Regions from separate parts of the Homo sapiens genome. Here region 1 is linked to region 2. Evidence: promoter capture Hi-C in 16 types of primary human blood cells and fetal thymus (Javierre and others, 2016). All regions are on one chromosome and are shown on one strand. Each heading gives the region's core, a stretch centred on a gene start or on the middle of the fragment in contact. The rest is flanking DNA. Distances are from core to core; before and after follow the strand shown.

What was found. Contacts are between HindIII fragments. The CHiCAGO score rates a contact against its expected background, and 5 or more counts as called.
Region 1: a contact is called between the fragment with the promoter of ADAMTS12 here and the fragment with the promoter of SLC45A2 in region 2, in 8 of 17 cell types (total CD4 T cells, naive CD8 T cells, neutrophils and 5 more). The highest score is 7.3, in total CD4 T cells.

What each region holds. Positions count from the first base shown.
Region 1 is chr5:33,887,924-33,894,112 of GRCh38, reverse strand. ADAMTS12 (ADAM metallopeptidase with thrombospondin type 1 motif 12) reads left to right here and starts at 2,123. Exons shown (of 24, transcript NM_030955.4): 1 at 2,123-2,383. The coding sequence starts at 2,257. It also overlaps the pseudogene RNU6-923P. RefSeq lists enhancers at 1,840-2,339, 2,340-2,841. The HindIII fragment of the contact is 2,849 bases long and covers 1,256-4,104 here.
Region 2 is chr5:33,982,345-33,989,142 of GRCh38, reverse strand. It overlaps SLC45A2 (solute carrier family 45 member 2), which reads left to right and starts at 4,450. Exons shown (of 7, transcript NM_016180.5): 1 at 4,450-4,944; 2 at 6,731-6,798. The coding sequence starts at 4,560. AMACR (alpha-methylacyl-CoA racemase) reads left to right here. Exons shown (of 5, transcript NM_014324.6): 5 at 1-2,978. The coding sequence ends at 50. It overlaps C1QTNF3-AMACR (C1QTNF3-AMACR readthrough (NMD candidate)), which reads left to right. Exons shown (of 9, transcript NR_037951.1): 9 at 1-2,157. The HindIII fragment of the contact is 8,753 bases long and covers 1,797-6,798 here.

The sequences.
Region 1 (6,189 bases), core at 874-3,373, 93 kb after region 2:
GGTTATGGTCTTGAGAGTAGATGGGAGAAAGAATAAGGGAAATGCCATTAGAGTTGAAGAGGCTAAACTGTGAAGCCAGAGTGTTCAGTGTATCATCCCTGATATTGGTGGAACTCAGCAGTTCTCCAGAGTTCTTCAGGTTTCTGCCTGAGAGACAAATCTCTTCTCCAGGACCTGGGAGCTAGGAGTGATCTTGCCCTTTGGACAAGATCTTGCTTGCTATTAAAAGGAGCAGCAGGAGAAAAAAAGGTGGAAGAAGAAGAGTGACAGAAGAGTACAAGGAGGAGAGAGAAACAAGGAAAGGGTGAAGGGAAGCAAAGAAGAAGGGGAAGAGGAAGAAAAGAAAAGAAGCAAAAAGAATTCTAGCCCAAAGTTGTTCTTCAATGCCCTTGCAAATGCAGGTCATCATGCCTGTGTTATCTGAATGTCTTTTAACTCCAGTTGTGATCCTGCTTCCTAATGTTTACGTAACAGAAAAAAGGCTCAGAGTAGTTCTTTTACTTGCTTGTGACAACAAAACATGTTCTGTTACACGTAAAGGGGATTTAAGGTTGCAGATGGAATTAAGGTTGCTAATCAGCTGATTAGGAGAGTGTCCTGGTTAACCAGGATGAGTCTAATGTAATCGCAAGGGTCCTTATAAGTGGAAAAGGGAGGAAGAAGAGTGATGTGATGTGAGAAAGACTCAAAGGGCCATTGCTAGCTTTGATGGGGGAAGAGGGCCATGAGCTGAGGAATTCAGGCAGCCTCTAGAAGTTGGAAAAGGCAAGACAACAGATTCTCCCCTAGAGTCTTCAGAAATGAATGCAGCTGTGCTAACTCCTTGATTTTAGCCCAGTGAGACCAGTTTCAGATCAGAACTGTCACATAAGAAATTTGAGTTGTTTCAAGCCACTGAATTTATGGTAACTTGTAACACCAAAAATAGGAAACTAGCATATACCTCTCAAAGTCTTGGTGCCCATGTGTTCCACATCTGAGAGGACCACCTTGCTTTCAGACCACTGAGTTTGCCTTGGAGGCTCTGTCCCTATACAAGGTTGAGTAAGCTGGTATCCCAGAACTCTTGATTAACACATGTGGTTGGCTGGCAGCCAGGGAAAAGTCAATATTGGGGGCCGAATTCTTCCTGAATGGAGTAAGGAGGCCTGTTTCAGCTCAGAGGTGAAAAATCTTGGCTGGATTAGCCCAGTAAATTCTCAAGATGCCTGGCAAGCGTCCTGGATTGTGGCATTCTCTGACCGATGTAAAAGCTTGAGCCTCTGAATGAATGGACGCCCTCTCCAGGGTAGCCAGTTCAGGGAAACTGGGGAGATACCTTAACACCTTCCTGGGTTGACTTAATTCCTGGTTTCCTTTTGAGTGAATGGAGGTGGGCTAGGAAAGATGGGGTTCTAGAATCAGAAGAGCCGCACAGAGATCTGCAGACTCAGAGGGGCCCACAGGCATTTGCAGCAGTCACCTCATTGCACAGCTGAGGGGGCTTGTCTGAGGTCACATTAGCAGATTAGCGCAGCCCATTTCCCTTTGTGTGACTTGGCAAAGAGAAAAATCGCCTATTAGTTTTTCCAGTGGAAGAGAATCCCAGAGCGGTCCGAGTGGGTGAGGAGTCTTGATAGAGCGATGTTGGGAAAAGTTCAGGAACTTGGAGGAGAACAGCAGGGGAGGGGGCAGCGCTGAGCGCGGAAGGATGGAGGGAGTGGGGCCCCCCTCTGCCTCAACTCTGTTCTCCTCATTTTGAGCTTGTATTTAAGCACGCCGGGGGGCTGGCCTGGGGGCCTCTCACTCGCAGCTTCCTCCAGTGCCTCCCAGGGCGGCTCTCCCGGGTCTCCCCTATTTGGCCGGCTCGGCCAGCTGGGCCTGGCGTTCGGGGCGGGGCCGGAGGAGCGCGGGGGTGGGAGTCCGGGAGGAAGATGCACCGAGCGGGCGGGCTGCGAGGCCGCGGGGCATGCGGGAGGCGGAGGGGTGGGGACCGGGGTGGGCTGCGCCCTCCCGCTCTGGCCCATTCCACACCCCGCCGAAAGCGGACACTGTCAGCTGAATCACTCCCCTTTTAGGAGGAGGGAGGGGAAAAAGGTGTCTAGCTCCTTTCTGCTTAAAAAAGCACAGGGAGATCGCGGGCAGCTTTGCAGTCGCTGCCTTCTCGCGCCTGACCATGCACCCCTGCATCTTCCTGCTGGGCCACAGGCGAGCGCTTTATTTCTGGAGCTGAGGGCTAAAACTTTTTTGACTTTTCTTCTCCTCAACATCTGAATCATGCCATGTGCCCAGAGGAGCTGGCTTGCAAACCTTTCCGTGGTGGCTCAGCTCCTTAACTTTGGGGCGCTTTGCTATGGGAGACAGCCTCAGCCAGGCCCGGTTCGCTTCCCGGACAGGAGGCAAGGTTAGTGACTCTTCTTTATTTCTTTTTAAAACAGTGGTGGTAAGACTTGCGGGAATTTTGTTGCTCCCCTTTCCCTTCCCCCACCCGGCAGAACTGAACTCTGAAAAGCCATTTGGCTGCGTTGTAAGGAAATCTGGGCTGGGACCTCAGGAGCCTAGGCTTTCTCAGAATTCAGTGCTTAAGGTGATGAGTCCTTCATTCTTATAGAAAGGTGAGTACCTCACTCTTTTACAGGGATGACACTGCAGTCTTTGAAAGACCCAAGAGGTAGCTGGTAACTTTTTCTCTTTTGTCTCCTCTTTGAATGCTGTACTGTTTTGATCCCCTATTTTTCAGACTCTAAACATGGAAAATTTTTTTTTTAAGTGCTAACTGGCTACTGGCCGTCATTGCAGTGTTTCTAGTTAGTTTTAAACCTCTGGTCAGGAAAGGGGAAATGTGATTCTTCCCCCCTACTGAGCAGGCTTGGCTGTGTTTTGGTTTCCTGGAAAGATTTAGGGTTGTATTTTTGAAAGAATAGTCCTTTTGGGGGAACTATACCTCCATAAGGGCTCACTTTTTCCTGTCCTGTCTCACTGACCACAGCTGGCTGCTTCTCTTTATGAATTTCTGAACTCATGTTATTGTAGGAAGCATTGGAAGCGTTCTGGTGGACAATTTGTTGTTGTTGTTTTATTCTTTTAAGCCTAACAGTCAGCAGTTTATTGGACTTGGAAGGGTCAGAGGCACCTTCATGTTTGGTGGGGGGTTCATTGTACCTCTGGGGGTAAACAGTCCTAGCAGCAGCAATGGCCCGCGTGGCACTCTGTGTCAGCCCATCCGATCACTGGCAATAGCCTTCCAGGGTGCAGGTACCAGTGTTGCTGTCCCTGCTGTACAGATGAGGATGCTGCAGCTTGGAGAGCTTATGAGGCCAGCTAATGTAGAGCAGAGTTTTCAGCTCAGGTAGTCTGACTCTTAGAATCATGCAGCACTGTCCTGTAGCAATAATAGGGACACACACGCACACACACACGCATATGCACCCACACGCATGCACACGCACACAGAGCACTGGGTTAGCATGCACTAAGTCCTGTGTTTGCTGACTGTGCTGAAGCCTCGGGAAGTGTCCTCCATGACTTTCTGACATCCCTTTAATTCCCAAGGCCACTCGGGTGATAAACATCACCAGCCTGTCCTTGTTTAGGATTTCTAAGCAGGGTTTTCTGCTCATGTTGTAAAATTCAAATATTGCTGGACAACTCATCTGCTGTGGCTTCAAGACGTATCAGAAGCAAGTCCCTCTCTTTGCTTTACTTGGAAAGCTGGAGCCAGCAAACACTGGGGTTAGATGTCAGTCAGCCAGCACTCACTTGTGTAAACGGTCCAGATACAATCTCCCACCCCCAAGTTTAAAATAGCAGGGCTTGTTGTTCTTTGAAAAACAGTTCCTTTGTGAAAAGTCTCCCTTCTGGGGCAGCACAAACAAAGCCTGCAAGCACTTCCCAGGGCATTTGGAGATGATTTCGTTCAAAGACACACATTCTCCTGGGTTGGTTTTCAGCTCTGCTCCACATCTTCTTTGTAAGGGAATTCAGCTTGGTGTGAAGCAGACACCACGGGGCCATGGTTTTTGCTCTCTGGAAAGTGAGATATGATTATTTTCCCTAGTCACCTCTATCTAGAGCTATGTGCTGAGAGTATCCACTGTTCAAAAAACCTATAAAGTGCTCCAAGCTTATTGGTGATATATATATTTATTTAGGTTTAAAAATAATTAGAGGTTTTTGTTTTTCGAGGCTGAGTCTTGCTCTGTCTCTCAGGCTGGAGTGCGGTGGTGCAATCTCAGCTCACTGCAACCTCTGCCTCCCGGGTTCAAGTGATTCTCCTGCCTCAGCCAACCAAGTACCTGGGATTACAGACGTGTGCCACCATGCCCGGCTAATTTTTGTATTTTTAGTACAGACGAGGTTTCACCATGTTGGCCAGGCTGTCTCCAACTCCTGACCTCAGGTGATCTGCCCACCTTGGCCTCTTAAAGTGCTGGGATTACAGGTGTGAACTACTGTACCCAGCCAATAATTTCAGTTTTTAAAAGCATTTCACCAACCACAATCAATTCCCTAGTGGATTTACAAATAATCCACATTTGGTGCAAAGGAGAAATTTCTAAGCAGACTTACATTTAGAATTAAGAAGGAAAGTCACAAAGAGGGAGGAAGGGATGGATGAGGGCAAACCAGTAGAGAATGAAATTCTAAGGCTATCTGGGATTAGGATGGCCTGGGTTTTTCCCTCCAAATGACCTACCTACAGCCTCACAAATAACCAATCTCCTTAGACTTCCATTTCCACTTTGATAGCATTTTTGAATGCATTCAAATCCTGAACGTTTAAACTTGCAAATTACTTCAGGATCATCTCACCCATTCTTATTTTTGAAATATTTAATTTTTTTTTTAATAGAGATGAGGTCTAGCTATGTTGTCCAGACTGATCTTGAACTCCTGGCCTTAAGCAATTCTCCCACTTCAGCCTCCCCAAATGCTGCGATTACAGGAATGAGCCATCATGCCTCGCCCCCATTTTTACTTTTATGGATAAGGAATGGGAGGTCTAGGGCATCAGTTAGTCAACATATATGATTGAGCACCTAATAAATGCCCCTTCACGAGGAGGGTAAAGGGAATTGCACAGGGTTCCACATTTGGAGACAGATTCAGACACTACATTACCTTTTAGGTTCCTTCTAGTTCTAAGAGTTGGGCTAAGTCAGGATTTTAGTCGTTGGAAGGAGTATGGAGATAAATCCAGTCCTTTCTGGGACTAGAAACATAGAAACAGGCTATTTGACTAACTGCCCAGTATTCTTTCCACATTGCTCAGTTGTGATATAGGAATGTGCTGTGACTTACACAGGATTTCTTGGTTCACAACCAAGTATCAGAACAACGGGAAATATTAATCTTGCACACAACATGCTGCGTGTCTTCTACAGCCAATCATATCCCCTTAGGTTTGTTTACCCCTATGCTGTTTACAAAGCGCCAGTCTGTTCCATGACCTCTTTTGCTCCTGACATCTCTGTGAAATCAACAGGACAGTCACTTTATTCCATATTAGAGATGAACTCCAGGCTTGTGCAAGAAACAGAGGGAATGTTGCAGTGTTTTCAGATAAGAGTTTTAATTATTTATGTATTCTATTAAAAAAATTCTGCAAGGAGGAAAGGATTTCAGCTATTTTCTTAATGTAAAAAGAGAGTTCACAGATTTGATATTTTGTGTTGATTATAATAATCTATACAGTTAGCACATTAGTTATCATAAAGTTTATGAGCAAATCCAACCTTCTGTGGCATACTTTACAATTTTGAGGAGCCCAACACAGTTCTTCACAACATTCCAACATGTGTAAATTTCTATAATAAAAATAGCGTTGCAAGGTTACAGTTATCTTACATGGAAGATAATTATGAAAATAAACCTCTATTACAGGAATTTCATAATCTTGTTTTTTAGAAAGGGATCTGAGAAATTCAATTGTCTCTAAGATAGAAATAAATATAAAGAATAAGTACAGATAATGCTCGCTTTGGAAGCACATATACTAATATTGGACCGATACAGAGAAGATTAGCGTGGCCCCTGCTCAAGGATGACATGCAAATCTGTGAAGCGTTCCATTAAAAAGAAAAAAGAATAGGCCGGCGTGGTGGCTCATGCCTGTAATCCCAGCACTTTGGGAGGCCGAGGTGCGTGGATAACCTGAGGTCAGGAATTCGAGACCAGCGTGGCCAACACAGTGAAACCCCATCTCTACTA
Region 2 (6,798 bases), core at 3,201-5,700:
TTAACTCAGATAAAATCATTGAAAGTAATAAGGTAAAAGCTAGTCTCTAACTTCCAGGCCCACGGCTCAAGTGAATTTGAATACTGCATTTACAGTGTAGAGTAACACATAACATTGTATGCATGGAAACATGGAGGAACAGTATTACAGTGTCCTACCACTCTAATCAAGAAAAGAATTACAGACTCTGATTCTACAGTGATGATTGAATTCTAAAAATGGTTATCATTAGGGCTTTTGATTTATAAAACTTTGGGTACTTATACTAAATTATGGTAGTTATTCTGCCTTCCAGTTTGCTTGATATATTTGTTGATATTAAGATTCTTGACTTATATTTTGAATGGGTTCTAGTGAAAAAGGAATGATATATTCTTGAAGACATCGATATACATTTATTTACACTCTTGATTCTACAATGTAGAAAATGAGGAAATGCCACAAATTGTATGGTGATAAAAGTCACGTGAAACAGAGTGATTGGTTGCATCCAGGCCTTTTGTCTTGGTGTTCATGATCTCCCTCTAAGCACATTCCAAACTTTAGCAACAGTTATCACACTTTGTAATTTGCAAAGAAAAGTTTCACCTGTATTGAATCAGAATGCCTTCAACTGAAAAAAACATATCCAAAATAATGAGGAAATGTGTTGGCTCACTACGTAGAGTCCAGAGGGACAGTCAGTTTTAGGGTTGCCTGTATCCAGTAACTCGGGGCCTGTTTCCCCGTGGGTCTCTGGGCTGTCAGCTTTCCTTTCTCCATGTGTTTGATTTCTCCTCAGGCTGGTAGCAAGTTCTGGATCTTATACCCAACACACAGCAACATCCAGAAATAAAGATCTCAGGACCCCCCAGCAAGTCGTTTTGTGTCTCCTTGGACTGAGTTAAGTTACAAGCCTTTCTTATACCTGTCTTTGACAAAGAAGACGGGATTGTCTTTACATAAAACCAGCCTGCTCCTGGAGCTTCCCTGGACTCAACTTCCTAAAGGCATGTGAGGAAGGGGTAGATTCCACAATCTAATCCGGGTGCCATCAGAGTAGAGGGAGTAGAGAATGGATGTTGGGTAGGCCATCAATAAGGTCCATTCTGCGCAGTATCTCAACTGCCGTTCAACAATCGCAAGAGGAAGGTGGAGCAGGTTTCTTCATCTTACAGTTGAGAAAACAGAGACTCAGAAGGGCTTCTTAGTTCATGTTTCCCTTAGCGCCTCAGTGATTTTTTCATGGTGGCTTAGGCCAAAAGAAATATCTAACCATTCAATTTATAAATAATTAGGTCCCCAACGAATTAAATATTATGTCCTACCAACTTATTAGCTGCTTGAAAAATATAATACACATAAATAAAAAAATATATTTTTCATTTCTATTTCATTGTTAATCACAACTACTTACTAAGGAGATGTATGCACCTATTGGACACTGTGCAACTTCTCACCTGGAATGAGATTGGACACTGCTGCCCTCATTTTCTGCTCCATGTTGGTGTCCATATAGTACTTGATTTTTTATCAGATGGCCTGGAAAACCCAGTCTCACAAAAATATGAAATTATCAGAAGGATTATAGTGCAATCTTATGTTGAAAGAATGAACTACCTCACTAGTAGTTCACGTGATGTCTGACAGATGTTGAGTTTCATTGTGTTTGTGTGTTCAAATTTTTAAATATTCTGAGATACTCTTGTGAGGTCACTCTAATGCCCTGGGTGCCTTGGCACAGTTTTAGAAATACCAGTTGAAAATATTTGCTCAGGAATATGCAACTAGGAAGGGGCAGAATCAGAATTTAAGCTTTCATATTCTAGCCTTCAGTCTTGTTCTTCAACCATTTTTAGGAACTTTCCCATAAGGTTATGTTTTCCAGCCCAGGCATGGAGGATCACTTGAGGCCAAGAGTTCGAGACCAGCCTGGGGAACTTGGCTGGACCTCCGTTTCTACGAAATAAAAATAAAAAAATTATCCAGGTATGGTGGTGTGTGCCTGTAGTCCTATCTACTCAAGGGTGGGGCAGGAGGATCACTTGAGCCCAGGAATTTGAGGCCACAGTGAATTAGGATTGCACCACTGCACTCTAGCCCAGGCAACAGAACAAGAACCTGTCTCTAAATAAATAAATAAAAATAATAATAATAAAAAAGATGTTTTCCCTACAACTCAGACTTTTCATTTGAACTCGGTCCAGCAAGGAAAATATAACCCACTCGAAGTCTTTAAAACAGAGGAAATTTAATATAAAGAATTCCACTGGTGACGAAAGAGCAGAGAAGCCCAGAAGATAGTGAGGCAACCCTGATAGGAACATAACTAGGAAGCCAAGACCACTCCTATGGTTGCAGGGGTGATGGGAAAGCTGGTGTACTTGGACCCAGAAGCCAAAGTTGCTGCACCCACCTTGGAGACATAGACACTGGCAGTAATACCTCAGGGAGAAGAAAGAAATCTAGGGAAATATCCTGGCTTCTTTCCTTCTCTCTCTCCCCTAGTCTTCCTACCAGTGTCTCCCATTAGCCAAATCTACCTAGAAGCCAGAAAACAAGGGAACCCTGGAAATGTAGCCCCATAAGATAAAGAGCACCAAAGGAAATAGATCTGAGCAGACAGGCAGCACAAAATGCAGTGTGTATGGTTTATTCACTCAGTAATTCCTTTAGCAAATGTTTATTGAGGATCTACTAGGTGCCAGGTATCATGATACTTGCTGGGGATACCATAATGAACAAAACAGACCTGTTCTCCGCTCTTGAGGAAATCAAAGACAAACACAGGATATGGAATAAACCCAGAATTATCTCATTGTAAAATGTGTTAAGTACCACGAGGAGAAATATCAGGGCGATCTGACACAGCTAATGATTTGAAGAAGGGTGTGACCTGCCACCATTTTAAATCTAGTTATTTCACTCCTGAGCTGTGTGTGTGGAAAACTTGTAGTAAAAAATAGAATGTCTATATTTATAAAAAGTTTATGAAAAGATATCAATTTATTTACATTTTGACAAACTCTATGTAATAAGGCTTTATTACCTCACGGCCATGTGTGTGATCATGTGTAATAGCATGTGTGTATGAGAGAGAGAAGCCATATGTAATTATGTGTAATAACGTCTGTGAGAGAGAAGCCATGTGTGTGATCATGTAAAATAACGTGTGTGAGAGAAGCCATGTGTGTGATCGTGTAAAATAACGTGTGTGAGAAGCCGTGTGTGATGTGTAATAACACGTGTGTGAGAGAGAAGCTATGTGTGCAATCATGTGTAATAGCATGTGTGTGTGAGAGAAGCCATGAGTCCGATCATGTGTAATAACGAGAAAAGCCCCATGTGTGATCATGTGTAATAGTGTGTGTGAGAGAAAAGCCATGTGTGTGGTCATGTGTAATAATGTGTATGAGAGAGAAGCCGTGTGTGATCGTTGTGTAATAACGTGTGTGAGAGAGAAACCATGTGTGATCATGTGCAATAGCATGTGTGTGTGAGAGAAGCCATGTGTGATCATGTGCAATAGTGTGTGAGAGAGAAGCTGTCATGTGTAATAATGTGTGAGAGAAGCCATGTATGATCATGTGTAATAACGTGAGAGAAGCCATGTGTGACCATGTGTAATAACGTGTGTGAGAGAAGCCATGTGTGTGGTCATGTGTAATAAAATGCATGAGAAGCCATGTGTGATCATGTGTAATAGCATGTGAGAGAGAAGCCATGTATGATCATGTGTAATAACGCATGTGAGAGAAGCCATGTGTGACCATGTGTAATGTGTGTGAGAGAAGCCATGTGTGATCATGTGTAATAGCATGTGTGTGAGAAGCCATGTGTATGATCATGTGTAATAACATGCATGAGAGAAGCCGTGTGTGATCATGTGTAATAGCATGTATGTGAGAAACCATGTGTGATCATGTGTAATGTGTGTGAGAGAAGCCATGTGTGTGATCATGTGTAATAGCATGTGTGTGAGAAGCCGTGTGTGATCATGTGTAATAGCATGTGTGTGTGAGAAGCCAGGTGTGATCACGTTTAATAGCGTGTGTGTGAGAGAAGCCATGTGTGTGATCATGTGTAATAATGTGTGTGTGAGAGAAGCCACGTGTGTGATCATGTGTAATAGCATGTGTGTGTGAGAGAGAAACCATGTGTGTGATCATGTGTAATACTGTCTGAGAGAGCCCATGTGTGTGATCACGTGTAATAACGTGTGTGTGAGAGGGAGAGAAGCCATGTGTGTGATCACGTGTAATTGTGTGTGTGTGTGAGAGAGAGAGAAAGAGAGAGGGAACAGTACAAAGGAGGATCCCTTTAGAAAAGTATTCCAACGTCTTATGGAGCCAGAGGGCTGATTCACAGCTGCTAATCTCTGTCATGCTTTCCAGCACCACCCCCTCCCTCTCATCATAACTTGTGATCTTAGAGGCAGGAAAGAATTTGAGCCCCTCCCCCAGCCTGACCATCTCTGTTGGTTGCTCGGCCAGGCTCCACGTCAAATCCAGTTTGAAACACAGACCCTAGGACCACGCAGGAGGTGGTGGGCTCGCAGGAAGGTTCCTCTCCCAGTGGCCATGGGTAGCAACAGTGGGCAGGCTGGCCGCCACATCTATAAATCCCTAGCTGATGATGGCCCCTTTGACTCTGTGGAGCCGCCTAAAAGACCCACCAGCAGACTCATCATGCACAGCATGGCCATGTTCGGAAGAGAGTTCTGCTACGCGGTGGAGGCAGCGTATGTGACCCCAGTCCTGCTCAGCGTAGGTCTGCCCAGCAGCCTGTACAGCATTGTGTGGTTCCTCAGCCCCATCCTGGGATTCCTGCTGCAGCCCGTGGTCGGATCGGCCAGCGACCACTGCCGGTCCAGGTGGGGCCGCCGGAGACCCTACATCCTCACCCTGGGAGTCATGATGCTCGTGGGCATGGCTCTGTACCTCAATGGGGCTACTGTTGTAGCAGGTAAGTGGGCTGCACAAGGTGGGCAGACAGGGATATGTGTCTTAGTGTGTACCTCTGCAGGAGGAGGATGTTCATGTGTTTGACCTTTCCTAGAAATTTGTTAGAATTGATCTCTCCTAGGTTACAATGAACTTCCCCTTTGACAAATTTGGCCCAGATTCTGTGGTTGGGGAGCCTCTACTTCTAGAAATATCAAAATAAATATGTTTCATTGTTGTGAAGATTTAAAAATAGGATTAAATTTGTATCTATTTTATTAAATTTGTATCTATTTTATCGAATTGAATATTTTTACATATTTATCAATTGAGTTACTTTTTGAGCCCATTATGCTCTATTTAATACTCTTATCAAATTGACTGGCTGCCAAATAGCTCCATAAATATTTACAATAAGTCACCTGTGTATCCAAATAAGTTAATTCTGTTCATAGTTTTATGTAGAGCGTTTTAATAGGCGTAGGGCATAAGCCCATCAGCTCAAGAGGACCTTTCTGGCATTGCAAATTCTGGACAAAAGCAAACCTGAGGGTAGGCATTTTTTCTAGCCATTAATCAGCTACCAATTAATCAGTAATTGATGGTAGTACAATAAAGTTGCATTGCAAAAAGGATCGCTAAAAATAGCACACATTTGTAGATCATTAACTCTCAAGCTAGCAGAATCGGTGATTATGAGGCAGGATAATCAATTATCATTTGTACATATTTGAAAGAAAGCGTAAATGTACAAATGTAGGATATTTCCAGGAGAATGAACAAAAAGCTGATAAGCATTGTTGACTCTAAGGAGGATTACTGAAGGACAGGAGGTGAGAAGTGGCGGGTAGACTTATTGTTCATTTAATTTTATACTGCAATTTTTAAAACGTGTATATAATCTATGCTATTCTTAAGTTTAAAAAGCAAATGGAAACAAGAGAAACAACAATGTATCTTTTATAGGAGATTGGGTAAACGATTACAGCGTATCCGTAGAATGAAAATCCAGCTGTTAAAAATTGTGAGGAGCTGAAATTATATGAAGAAAGTTGGTTACTGCATCAGTGCTGTTCAAAGATGTGGCCTCTGACCTGCCCCTCAGCATCAGCAGAGACCGTTAGAGATGCAGTTTCTCGGGCCCCCTTCAGGCCCACCAATTGAATCAGAGTCTTGGGAAATGGGGCCAGCAATCTGTGTTTTAACAAGACATACAAGCGATAGTTCAATATGCCAGACTTTGAGAAGCACTGCGTTTGACTACCATTGTACACGTGTGTCTGTATGTGCAGAAGTGCGTAAAAGGAGGCCTTAAAGCCTGACCTTTGCTGGGGCTGGGATTGGAAGCATCTCCCTCAGCTTTTTTAATAGAATTGGAATTGCTTGCGATAAGCATGCATACTTTTTTATTTAAGGAGATATTTTACATACCAGAAATTTCACTAATTAAAAGTGTACAATTCAGTGCCTTTAGTATGTTGTGCAACCATTACCACTCTCTAATTCTACAACATTTTCATCACCCCCAAAATAAACCCATTACCATCAATAGTCACGTCCACTTTTCCCCTATGCACCAGCCCTAAGCAACCACTAATTTACTTTGTGTCTCCATAGATTTGTGTTTTCTGGACATTCGCTTGCATAATTTTTAAAACCTGAAAAAAAATGTAAAGCTATTTTTATTTGGAAAAAAGCAAAATAAAAGCAAGGAAGATGATTTTATGGCAAGAAGTTTAGGTGGAAATTACAAAACGCGGATGATTCTAAAACAGGATTTAGGAGACCAATGTTTATTTTTCTTTTAGCTTTGATTGCTAACCCAAGGAGGAAGCTGGTTTGGGCCATAAGTGTCACCATGATAGGTGTCGTTCTC